Linked DNA regions of Homo sapiens: region 1 is linked to region 2. The links are contacts of gene promoters, found by promoter capture Hi-C in blood cells and fetal thymus (Javierre and others, 2016). All regions are on one chromosome and are shown on one strand. The core of a region is centred on a gene start or on the middle of the fragment in contact, and the rest is flanking DNA. Distances in the headings are between cores, read along the strand shown.

What was found. The method cuts DNA at HindIII sites, captures the fragments that hold promoters and counts their contacts. A CHiCAGO score of 5 or more calls a contact.
Region 1: a contact is called between a fragment that was not itself captured here and the fragment with the promoter of CMPK1 in region 2, in 1 of 17 cell types (neutrophils). The highest score is 5.5, in neutrophils.

Annotation. Positions count from the first base shown.
Region 1 is chr1:45,689,508-45,694,755 of GRCh38, forward strand. It overlaps TMEM69 (transmembrane protein 69), which reads left to right. Exons shown (of 3, transcript NM_016486.4): 2 at 1,467-1,603; 3 at 3,697-4,929. The coding sequence starts at 1,562. The coding sequence ends at 4,398. It also overlaps a transcript of IPP not described here. Among named protein-coding and RNA genes, the nearest start is that of TMEM69, 4.0 kb to the left of the region's middle. The HindIII fragment of the contact is 2,872 bases long and covers 265-3,136 here.
Region 2 is chr1:47,330,715-47,336,075 of GRCh38, forward strand. CMPK1 (cytidine/uridine monophosphate kinase 1) reads left to right here and starts at 3,076. Exons shown (of 6, transcript NM_016308.3): 1 at 3,076-3,402. The coding sequence starts at 3,232. RefSeq lists a silencer at 2,989-3,628 and enhancers at 3,015-3,818, 3,819-4,622, 4,139-4,198. The HindIII fragment of the contact is 8,075 bases long and covers 1-3,983 here.

The sequences.
Region 1 (5,248 bases), core at 451-2,950, 1.6 Mb before region 2:
CCAGCCTGAGCAATATGGCAAAACCCCTTCTATACAAAAAATACAAAAATTGGGGCCAGGCACGGTGCCTAATGCCTGTAATCCCAGCACTTTGGGAGGCCAAAGCAGGCGGATCACGAGGTCAGGAGATCGAGACCATCCTAACATGGTGAAACTCCGTCTCTACTAAAAATACAAAAAATGAGCTGGGCGTGGTGGCATATGCCTGTAGTCCCAGCTACTCAGGAGGCTGAGGCAGGAGAATGGCATGAACCTGGGAGGCGAAGCTTGCAGTGAGCTGAGATGGCACCACTGCACTCCACCCTGGGCGACAGAGCAAGACTCCGTCTCAAAAAAAAATTGGCTGGGCATGGTGGCGTGGCCTGTAGTCCCAGCTCCTTAGAGGGCTGAGGTGGTAAGATCCCTCGATCCCGGGAGGTCAAGGCTGCAGACAGCGGAGAGCACGCCACTGCAGTCCAGATTGGGTGACAGAGCGAGACCCTGTATCCAAAAAAAAAAATGTTACATCAACCCTATGAATTAGTATCCATATTTCAAAGGTGAATGAACTGCACCATAACAAGATTAAATAATTTGTTCAAAGACACACAGCTAATAAGTAGTGGAGCCAGGATTCCAACCAAGTTTGACACCAAAGTCTGCACTCCAACAGGCTATTCTCTCTCAGTACTAAGTTAATGAGGTTATTTTGAGCATTAAATGAGTTAATGCTCACCGGGCGCGGTGGCTCATGCCTGTAATCCCAACACTTTGGGAGGCCTAGGCAGTTGGATCACCTGAGGTCAGGAGTTCAGGACCAGCCTGGCCAACATGGCGAAACCCCATCTCTCCTGAAAATACAAAAATTGGCCAGACATGGTGGCAGGAGCTTGTAATCCCAGCTACTTGGGAGGCTGAGGCACAAGAATTGCTTGAACCCGGTAGGCAGATGATGCAGTGAGCCAAGATCGCGCCACTGCACTCCAGCCTGGGCGACACAGCAAGACTCTTGTCTCAAAACAAACAAACAAATTAAAAAAACCTAAATTATATTGGTTGGTACTATCGTTATTTTGAGTTGTGAACTCTTAAGCCCCAAAATAGGAGGAAAAAAGGAAACAGAAGCTATGACCTTCCAGTTTTGTTTTGGTTTTTTTTTTAATTTCACAAAAACACCACTTAGAAGACCCTTCATTTTAAAGATGAGAAAACCAGTACTCAAGCAATTTGCCCAGTGTCACACAGCTAGGAAATGGTGGAAGTATCTGTAAAATCTCTATGTGCATTACTCTTTCTATTACACTAGACAGCCAAAGCTAAAAGAACAGTTCAGATACTAAAAGGATCTATTTTGTTACTGTGTTACCGACAGTTTGAAAACATTAATGATTCTTTTCAAAGGAAAGTGTTATATTCATGAATTACTACTATTTAAAAATTAATGTATAAAATGAGGAAAATTAAGTGACACCTTGTGTTATACACAGAAACATGCCCCTGATTCAGTGCCTCTGCTTAGCTGTAACATGTTAATCAGAACTACCTGGCATCTTCCTGAACAAGACTTTCAATAGGGGCCAGTATGCTTCGCTTCATCCAGAAGTTTTCTCAAGCATCTTCAAAGGTTGGTTTGTTCAGCAGATATTTGAGCACTATTTGCCAAATATTGCTTGGGCTAGGTCAGTAGCAGTGAAAAAGACAAAAATCCTTACCCTTGTATATTCAGGTGATGGAGGGAAGAGTTAAGTAAAATACAAGTAAGTAAAATGTTTATTATATCAGGCTGGGTGCAGTGGCTCACGCCTGTAGTCCCAGCAATTTGGCAGGCCGAGGTGGGTGGGATCACTTGAGCTCAAGGAGTTCAAGACCAGTCTGGGCACATGGCAAAACCCCATCTCTACAAAAAATTAGCTGGGCATGGGGTCACACGCCTATAGCCCCAGCTACCTGGGAGGCTGAGAGAGGAGGATCGCTTGAGCCCAGGAGGTTGAGGCTGCAGTGAGCTGAGATCATGCCACTGCACTGCAGCCTGGGTGACACAGCAAGACGATGTTTAAAAAAAAAAAAAATTGGCTAGGTGCCGTGGCTTACGGCTGAAATCCCAGCACTTTGGGAGTTGAGGCAGGTGGATCACTTGAGGTCAGGAGTTCAGTACCTGCCTGGCCAACATGGTAAAACCCTTGTCTCCACGGAAAAATACAAAAATTAGCTCAGCATGGTGGTAGGCGCCCGTAGTCCCAGCTACCTGGGGGGCTGAGGCAGAAGAATCACTTGAACCCAGGAAGCAAAGGTTGCAGTGAGCCGAGATTGTGCCACTGCACTCTGGCTTGGGTGACAGAGGAATAATTCATCTCAAAAAGTAAAAATTAAAAAAAATAAGGCCAGGCACGGTCACTCACTCCTGTAATCCCAAAACTTTGGGATGCCAAGGCGGGCAGATCACGTGAGGTCAGGAGTTCGAGACCAGCCTGGACAACATGGTGAAACCCTGTCTCTACTAAAAATACAAAAATTAGCTGGGCATGGTGGCGGACGCCTGTAATCCCAGCTACTCAGGAGGCTGAGGCAGAGAATCGCTTGAACCTGGGAGGCAGAGGTTGCAGTGAGCAGAGATTGTACCACTGCACTCCAGCCTGGGTGATAGAGCAAAACTCGGTCTCAAAAAAATAAAAATAAAAATTAATACATCAACTGGTAAATGCTGTGGAGAACTATAAAGCAGGGAAGGGCAATAGGTAGTGTCAAGACGTAGGATTGGACTTACAAATGGCAGGGGATCGGAAGTAGGTAACTGAGGGAAGAGCAGTAAATATGGAAACAGGGAAATGGTTCCAAGATGGAACCATTCCTAGCATGTTTGAGTAATCACTGAGATTCTTCAATAACTTCAATTTTTTCTTTAATGCAACACTTTTTAGTTGAAGTCTGGTCACTAAAACACAGAATCAGCAGGAAAGGTTATTACTTTGCCCGTGTACAATGAAAGGCAGTGGGGATTTTAAGGCAAGGAAAAAAATACGGTCCTGGCTCTCAAGTCTACTGAGACAAAGACAAGTAAACACACAATTTTAATTCACTGTGAGAAGAATTATGATGGAAGTGTGCACAGGGTGCTTACTATAGGAGCATTAAATCAGACCGTAGAAGGGTAAAGGAAAGCTTTAAGTTGAATTTTGAATGTTGAGGTAAGTTTCCTAGATAGGAAAGTAGTAAGAGCTAGAATTCTAGGCAGAGCATACACAAAGGTGTGGAACTGTGAAAAGTATGTGGTGTTCATAAAACTAAGTTGGAAGGTAGATTTATTTTCTCCATATAAAAACAGCATTCCCACGGTAATTAGTGCTGCTGCTTTTGCTATTTATAAATAAAAGAGGCAGTTTAGAAGGCCAAATTCTGAAGATCTAGTCTTTACCTGCTCCTCTTTCAGATATTTTTCTCATGGAATAAGATTAAGTGGTAGGTTGAAATATATCACTAGTTTGTGTTCAGTGGTTTCTTTTGTACATTGTATAGCCATTTAATACTCTTACCAGCAATAATATCACTTCAGAGTTATTAGTTCATCCTTTCTGTATAGTTTGATGTGGTAATGGAAAGCAGATCTTTTTTGTTTGCTCCTTTCAAACAATCCCCATTATTTCATACTGGGATTGACTAAAATCTGATGATACATATATATATTTTTAATTTTGTCTTTTGGTTCTATTTTCTTTGTAGATACTGAAGTACTCTTTCCCAGTGGGACTAAGAACCAGCAGAACAGATATACTTTCTCTCAAGATGTCTCTCCAGCAAAACTTTTCCCCATGTCCAAGGCCTTGGCTTTCCTCATCATTTCCAGCGTATATGAGCAAGACACAGTGCTATCATACATCCCCCTGCAGCTTTAAAAAGCAGCAGAAGCAAGCACTTCTAGCCAGACCCTCAAGCACCATCACTTACCTAACTGACAGCCCAAAGCCAGCATTATGTGTAACTCTGGCAGGACTAATCCCCTTCGTTGCTCCACCACTGGTCATGCTGATGACAAAAACTTATATTCCCATATTAGCTTTTACTCAGATGGCTTATGGAGCCAGTTTCCTATCTTTCTTGGGTGGGATCAGATGGGGTTTTGCTCTACCAGAAGGTAGTCCAGCCAAACCAGACTACCTTAATTTAGCTAGCAGTGCAGCTCCTCTTTTCTTTTCATGGTTTGCCTTCCTTATTTCTGAAAGACTTAGTGAAGCCATAGTCACAGTAATAATGGGTATGGGAGTAGCATTCCACCTTGAACTTTTTCTCTTACCACATTATCCCAACTGGTTTAAAGCCCTGAGGATAGTAGTCACTTTATTGGCCACTTTTTCATTTATAATCACTTTAGTAGTTAAAAGTAGTTTTCCAGAAAAAGGACATAAGAGACCTGGTCAAGTATAAAAAATATAAAAGTCTGGGAAGTGAGGAGCACCTCTGCCCAGCTGCTGCCCCGTCTGGGAAGTGAGGAGCGCCTCTGCCTGGCCGCCTGACCATCTGGGAAGTGTGACAAGCGCCTCTGCCCGGCCGCTGTGCAACCTTCCACGTGTGAAGTGACAGCCTTGTGTGTGATCTTTTCTGTCTTCCCCAAGTTTGCATTTTCGACATTAAAGTTTACTTTTTAGTTAAAAGTTTTAAAAATATATATATATAAATACACTGTAGATAACATTTGTATGCCAGCTACACCTTTTTCTACTTCTGTTTGGCTTTTTTTCCCCACACCAATGGTAATTTATCTTCACAGATTGTTCTTCATTTCTAGAAATTGTTACTTCATGGTAATTACTTGAGCAAAAGCTTGAAAATCCCTGACAAGTACTTTTCATCTCATAGTATATTAGTTTTCACTCAGTCATTTTATGAATAATATAGTTATCCACTTAAACATTTCAATATTTTAACCATCTTGAAAATTAAAGATTAAAAATCCCCTTTGTTAGAGTCTTGTGATCATTGAAAAGAATGCACATATTCTCCCACTTCAAGCGGAAAACCTCGTATCTGTGAGTATCTGAAAAGAAAAGGTAGTTCCATTGAGTTTTCACAGGAGTTACCACTGGGAAAGGCATGTCCAAACTTATTTCACATGGTATAACCCAATTATATGAGCTAAAAGGATCTATGGCTCTAAAGTCAGTAGGGAGCAGTGTCATGAGGGAAAGCCACATTCAAAGGTAAGTTGGACATGTTTTCCAGTTTTTATTAGGATATTTGGCATGGTACAGATAACAACTTGTCCCTTACCACCAAA
Region 2 (5,361 bases), core at 1,826-4,325:
GGAAAAGAAGACACATTTGTTTTGATATGGCCTTTTTCATACTCCTGCTACCCATTCCCAATATGACCAATTGTCCTTGTTCTTGGCTGCCCATGTCCTAGCTCCTCCTCCCCAGAAGCTGAAGGGTTTGGAGCCTTCTTTTTTTTGAGACAGAGTCTTGCTCTGTCGCCAGGCTGGAGTGCAGTGGTGCGATCTCAGCTCACTGCAACCTCCACCTCCTGGGTTCAAGCAATTCTCCTGCCTCAGCCTCCCAAGTAGCTGGGATTACAGGCATGCACCACCACATCCAGCTAATTTTGTATTTTTAGTAGAACTGGGGTTTCACCGTGTTAGCCAAGCTGGTTTCCAACCTCAGGTGATCTGCCCACCTTGGCCTCGCAAAGTGCTGGGATTACATGCATGAGCCGCTGCGCCCGGCCGTGTTTTTTTATGTGAAAATTCACATATCTAAACGTGGGTCCCTGTTTTTGTATAGCCTTCAAGCTCAAAATAATGTTCACATTTTAAAATGGATTTTAAAAATAAAAATAAATAATATTTTGGGACACATGCAAATTATATAAATTCAAATTTCAGTATCCATAGAAAAATGTTTTGTTTTTGTTTTGAGACAGGGTCTGGCTCTGTTGCCCAGGTTAGAATGTAGTAGCACGATCTTGGCTCACTGGAGTTTGCACCTCCTAGGCTCAAGGGCTGCTCCCACCTCAGCCTCCACCTCCTGGGCTCAAGGGATCCTCCCACCTCAGCCTCCCATCTCAGCCTTCCGAGCATCTGGGACTACAGGTGCACACCACCACCTGTAGTGTAGTGTAGGCCTGGCTGGGCGCGGTGGCTCATGCCTGCAATCCCAGCACTTTGGGAGGCCAAGGCAGGAGGATCACTTGAGCCCAGGAGTTCAAGACCAGCCTGGACAACATGGTGAAACCCCCTCTCTACTAAAAATACAAAAATTAACCAGGGGTGGTGGCAGGTGCCTGTAATCCCAGCTACTTGGGAGGCTGAGGCAGAAGAATCGCTTGAACCTGGGAGGTGGAGGTTGCAGTGAGCCAAGATGGCACCACTGCATTCCAGCGTGGGTGACAGAGTGAGACTCTATCCCCCCCAAAAAAATTTTTTTCCAGCTGTGATAATAAAAAATATCCCATTCTCCTTTCTATGGTGGGAAGGAAAAGGTAGAAGTTGTGGAGAGGAAAGAGGTAGAAATTAAAGGGAGAATGGAAAAGAAGGGCAAACAAAGGCAAGTAGGTGAGGAGAAGGACAGGAAAAGAGACAGGGAGAAGGGAGGGACTTATAAATGGGAAAAGAAGGGTAGGAAGGATGGGAATAAGTAAAAACAACAACAACAAAAAGAAAGCAAGGAGAGAGAGTAGAGATGGGGAAGAGCCAGAAAATGCTGAGTGAGCTAAGAAAGGACCACCAAAAGAAAAAGGAGAATGGGGGTGGTCAGACAGAGGGCTATACCACTATCTTCCTCTCCTGTTTGCTTTCGTTTACTAACGTCCTGGTCACTCTGCCCTAAACAGCTTAGTTCCTTTCCCATAGTCTTTGTTCACTCCAGCACTATCTGACTTGAACTTGTACCTGTACGACAAATCTAACACCCTGGACTCTTAGTTCTAAAAACAGGACATGCATTCTGCCTCAGTCTTCCATTCCCATGGTCTCACCCTGGACCTTGGCATCATCAGAAACTCAGAAGCTGGGACATTTCAATTCCAAATATCCCACTCAGACCAGCAGCATCCATACTGCCAGAGCACTTGCTCATATACCCCACTGCAATCTTTCTTGGGCCAATGCTCTAAGACATTGGTCCCTTTCCCCACCACCCTCCAACCCCTCCACTACCAGGCTTCATGTGCCATTATTTGCTTTCCTGTATGGTTTTGATTCTACACACAGCATCATGAACATTCTCTTCCAAACACTCTCATCACTTGGCCCCCTCTCTCTGTTGTACTTGCCAGGCAAAATCCCAACCCTCAGTAAATGCAACAAGCTGCCTTCTCTGCCTGTGCCTGAATGGCCAAACATCTTCAATTATTTTGAATCCGTTACCTCAAATATCAAATGAGCTCTTAACGTTGGCCAGAAGGCCTTTTAAAGGCCTGTATGCACCAAGGCTCAGTTCTTGAACGTCTCCTTTTCTTCTCCCTTAAGATTCTTCCCTAATGAAGGGGGCAGGCGAACGGAGTTAAAGGGCTTCCATTGCTGTTAGAATACAGCCCAAATTCCTTTCCATAATCAAAAGTCCTGATCTGCCACCGACCTCACTTTCTCAACTTTTCACCTTCCATTCTCCCCTCATTTGACTCAGCCCTGGTCTCACTGTCACTGGCCTTTTTTCCTTTTTTTTTTTTGAAGCAGTCTCATTGTCACCTAGGCAGGAGTGCAGTGGTGCTATTACGGCTCCTAGGCTCAAGTGAACATCCCAGTAGCTGGGATCACAGGCACGGGTCACGGTGCCCGGCTTTTAAATTTTTGGTCGAGACGGGGTCTCGTCATGTTGTCCAGGCTGGTCTCGAACTCCTGGGCTCAAGCCATCCTCCTGCCTCAGCCTCCCAAAATGCTGGGATTACAGGCGTGAGCCACCGCGCCCAGCCAGGCCTTCCTTCAATTGCTTTAACATGCCAAACCAACTTAGATTTTTTGCACATGCTTTTCTCTGTGGGACACTCTATCCTGGTGTTTGCCTGGTTTCGCTCTTTTCTATCCTTTTGTCTTGGCTTGAATGTCACCTCTTCTGAAGCCTTCTCTGGCGACCCTGGCCATCTTATGTCCTACTTGTTATTTCTTCAAAATCGTACTGCCTTTTGTATGTACTGGTGTTTACTCATTCACACTGGCTACCTCCCCATACCTCACTGGCTGGAATGGAAACTCATTGCGAGCAGAGACAATAGGTTTTGCTCTCCCGCGGATCACGTCCCAGCCTCCAGCTCAGCACCAGACACTTGAGGGCGCAGGATAAAATATCTGCAGTCAGAAAGCACTAATAACCACCCAAGGGTTGGAGGAAAGCTGGCGCGGACCGCACGAGTGTCGCCGAGACGCCGCCGCCGTGCGAAGCTCCTCCCCTTCCGACAGGGCCGCGGACGCCCGGGCAGCCACGGCGGCGGGGCCGCGGCGGGCGCCGGCTCAGCCCGCCCCTTTCTCCCGCCGCCTCCCCGCCCCGCCCCGCGCCGCGCCGGCCGCTGTCAGCTCCCTCAGCGTCCGGCCGAGGCGCGGTGTATGCTGAGCCGCTGCCGCAGCGGGCTGCTCCACGTCCTGGGCCTTAGCTTCCTGCTGCAGACCCGCCGGCCGATTCTCCTCTGCTCTCCACGTCTCATGAAGCCGCTGGTCGTGTTCGTCCTCGGCGGCCCCGGCGCCGGCAAGGGGACCCAGTGCGCCCGCATCGTCGAGGTGAGGCCCGGGCAGCAGGCGGGCTCCTTGGGGCTTGACGGGATGCGGGCCGGCCTGTCCCGCCGCCCCTAGTCCGCGCCCCGCGGAGTCGCCGAGCCGCAGACTACGAGTCCCGGCGGCCACCGCGCCGCCCGCGTGGCAGTGGCCGAGGGCCGCCGGCGCGCGGCGTGCCGGGACTTGTAGTCCGCGCCCGCCCGCCTTGGGGGCCACCGCTTGAGGTCGCTTTGTTCCTGCGCCCCTTCTTTTCTTACATTTTGGGGACCAGATTCGTCTCTAGAGTGGGCTGGGAGAGGGATCCCGGAGGCCAACCTTTGGGGGTCCCCCAGCGCGCAGAGGTTAGCGTGTCGCTGATCGTGTGGCAGGTGAAGGCAGCAGGAGCGCGGATTTGGGTTAGAGGCCGTGTGCGCCCACAGTTGTCTGAAGGAGAGACCTATTTTTCTTCTCCGCGCCTTCCCTCTGGTTCCCTAAACTCCGCACTGTCACCGAACGTGTCTTTACTCTAGAAAGGAGGCCCGTGGGGCGGGGTGTTATTTTAGGCGTGCTGTGGGCTGCCGCTGGCACTCTCGAGCCCCGTCCCCGCAAGCTTTAGGGCGGAGCCAGCCCTGAGGCTCGGCCCGGGTCGGGGATGGGGAAAGCCGGGAGTGCTGTTCTGAGATCAAGCTTCAACCTTTGGCCCTGCTGCCAACTCACGCTCGGCCCTCGGTCACTTCCTGTCTCCCAGCCTCAGTTAGCCCTTGTAATACAGTAAAAAGAGTCTCTGAACCCAGATTTTCTCAGGATATAAAACACCTCCCAAATGTAAAATGCTGTTACTTTTTTTTCTTTTGCTTTGAGACAGGTTACCAGTTCAATTCTTTTAACAATTTTTGAGCTAGATGTATGGTTGGTTAGCTGCATTGACACTGTGGGAAAAAAAGGCTTCATGGACAATCTGGGGAATGCTTGGGAAAGAAGGAAAACAGGATATCTAGAAACAGAAGAGGCGACCATTGGTGGCCTCTAGTGAAATCACTCTGAAACCCTGTAACCAACAAAAGTTTTTTTGACCTAGAACTTATAATTTCCTCCTCTTCTAGGATATGGCCAATATTAGCATGGGGCTTTTGCTTCTCTCCTTATATGTTCATAACAATCAACTCCTGTCCTGTATTTTATTCCCTAAATAGCATCCAGAGAAAGTTAGATGAGTTCAACAAGTCATTATGTGTTGGACAGATGTATTTATAAATATTGATCATTTTGCCAGGCGCTGTGGCTCACTCCTGTAATCCCAGCACTTTGGGAGGCCGAGGCTGGCGGATCACGAGGTCAGGAGTTCGAGACCAGCCTGGCTAACATGGCGAAACGTTGTCTTTACTAAAAATACAAAAATTAGCCTGGCGTGGTGGCGGGCGCCTGTAATCCCAGCTACTCCGAAGGCTGAGGCAGGAGAATCGCTTGAAACCGGAAGGCGGAGGTTGCGGTGAGCCCATATCGCGCCACTGCACACTAGCCTGGGCGAAAGAGTGAAACTCCGTCTCAAAAAAAAAAAAAAAAAAAAAATCATTTTAGGTGTCAAAGTGGAACTAGTCCAACTAAAAAAATACATAACATTTACATCCTCTTAAAAAAATTTTTTTTTGTTGGTTCTCTTTCTTTTGTTGTTTTTTTGTTTTTGTTTTTGTTTTTGTGACAGTCTCACTCCGTCACCAGGCTGGAGTGCGGTGGTGCGATCTCAGCACACTGCAACCTCCGCCTCCCAGGTTCAAGCGATTTTCCTGCCTCAGCCTCTGCATAGCTGGGATTACAGGCGTGCGCCACCACGCCTGGCTAATTTTTGTATTTTTGGTAGAGACAGGGTTTCACCATGTTGGCCAGGCTGATCTCGAACTCTTGACCTCGTGATCTGCCCGCCTCAGCCTCCCAAAGTGCTGGGATTATAGGCATGAGCCACCGTGCCTGGCCTTGTCACTTGTCTTT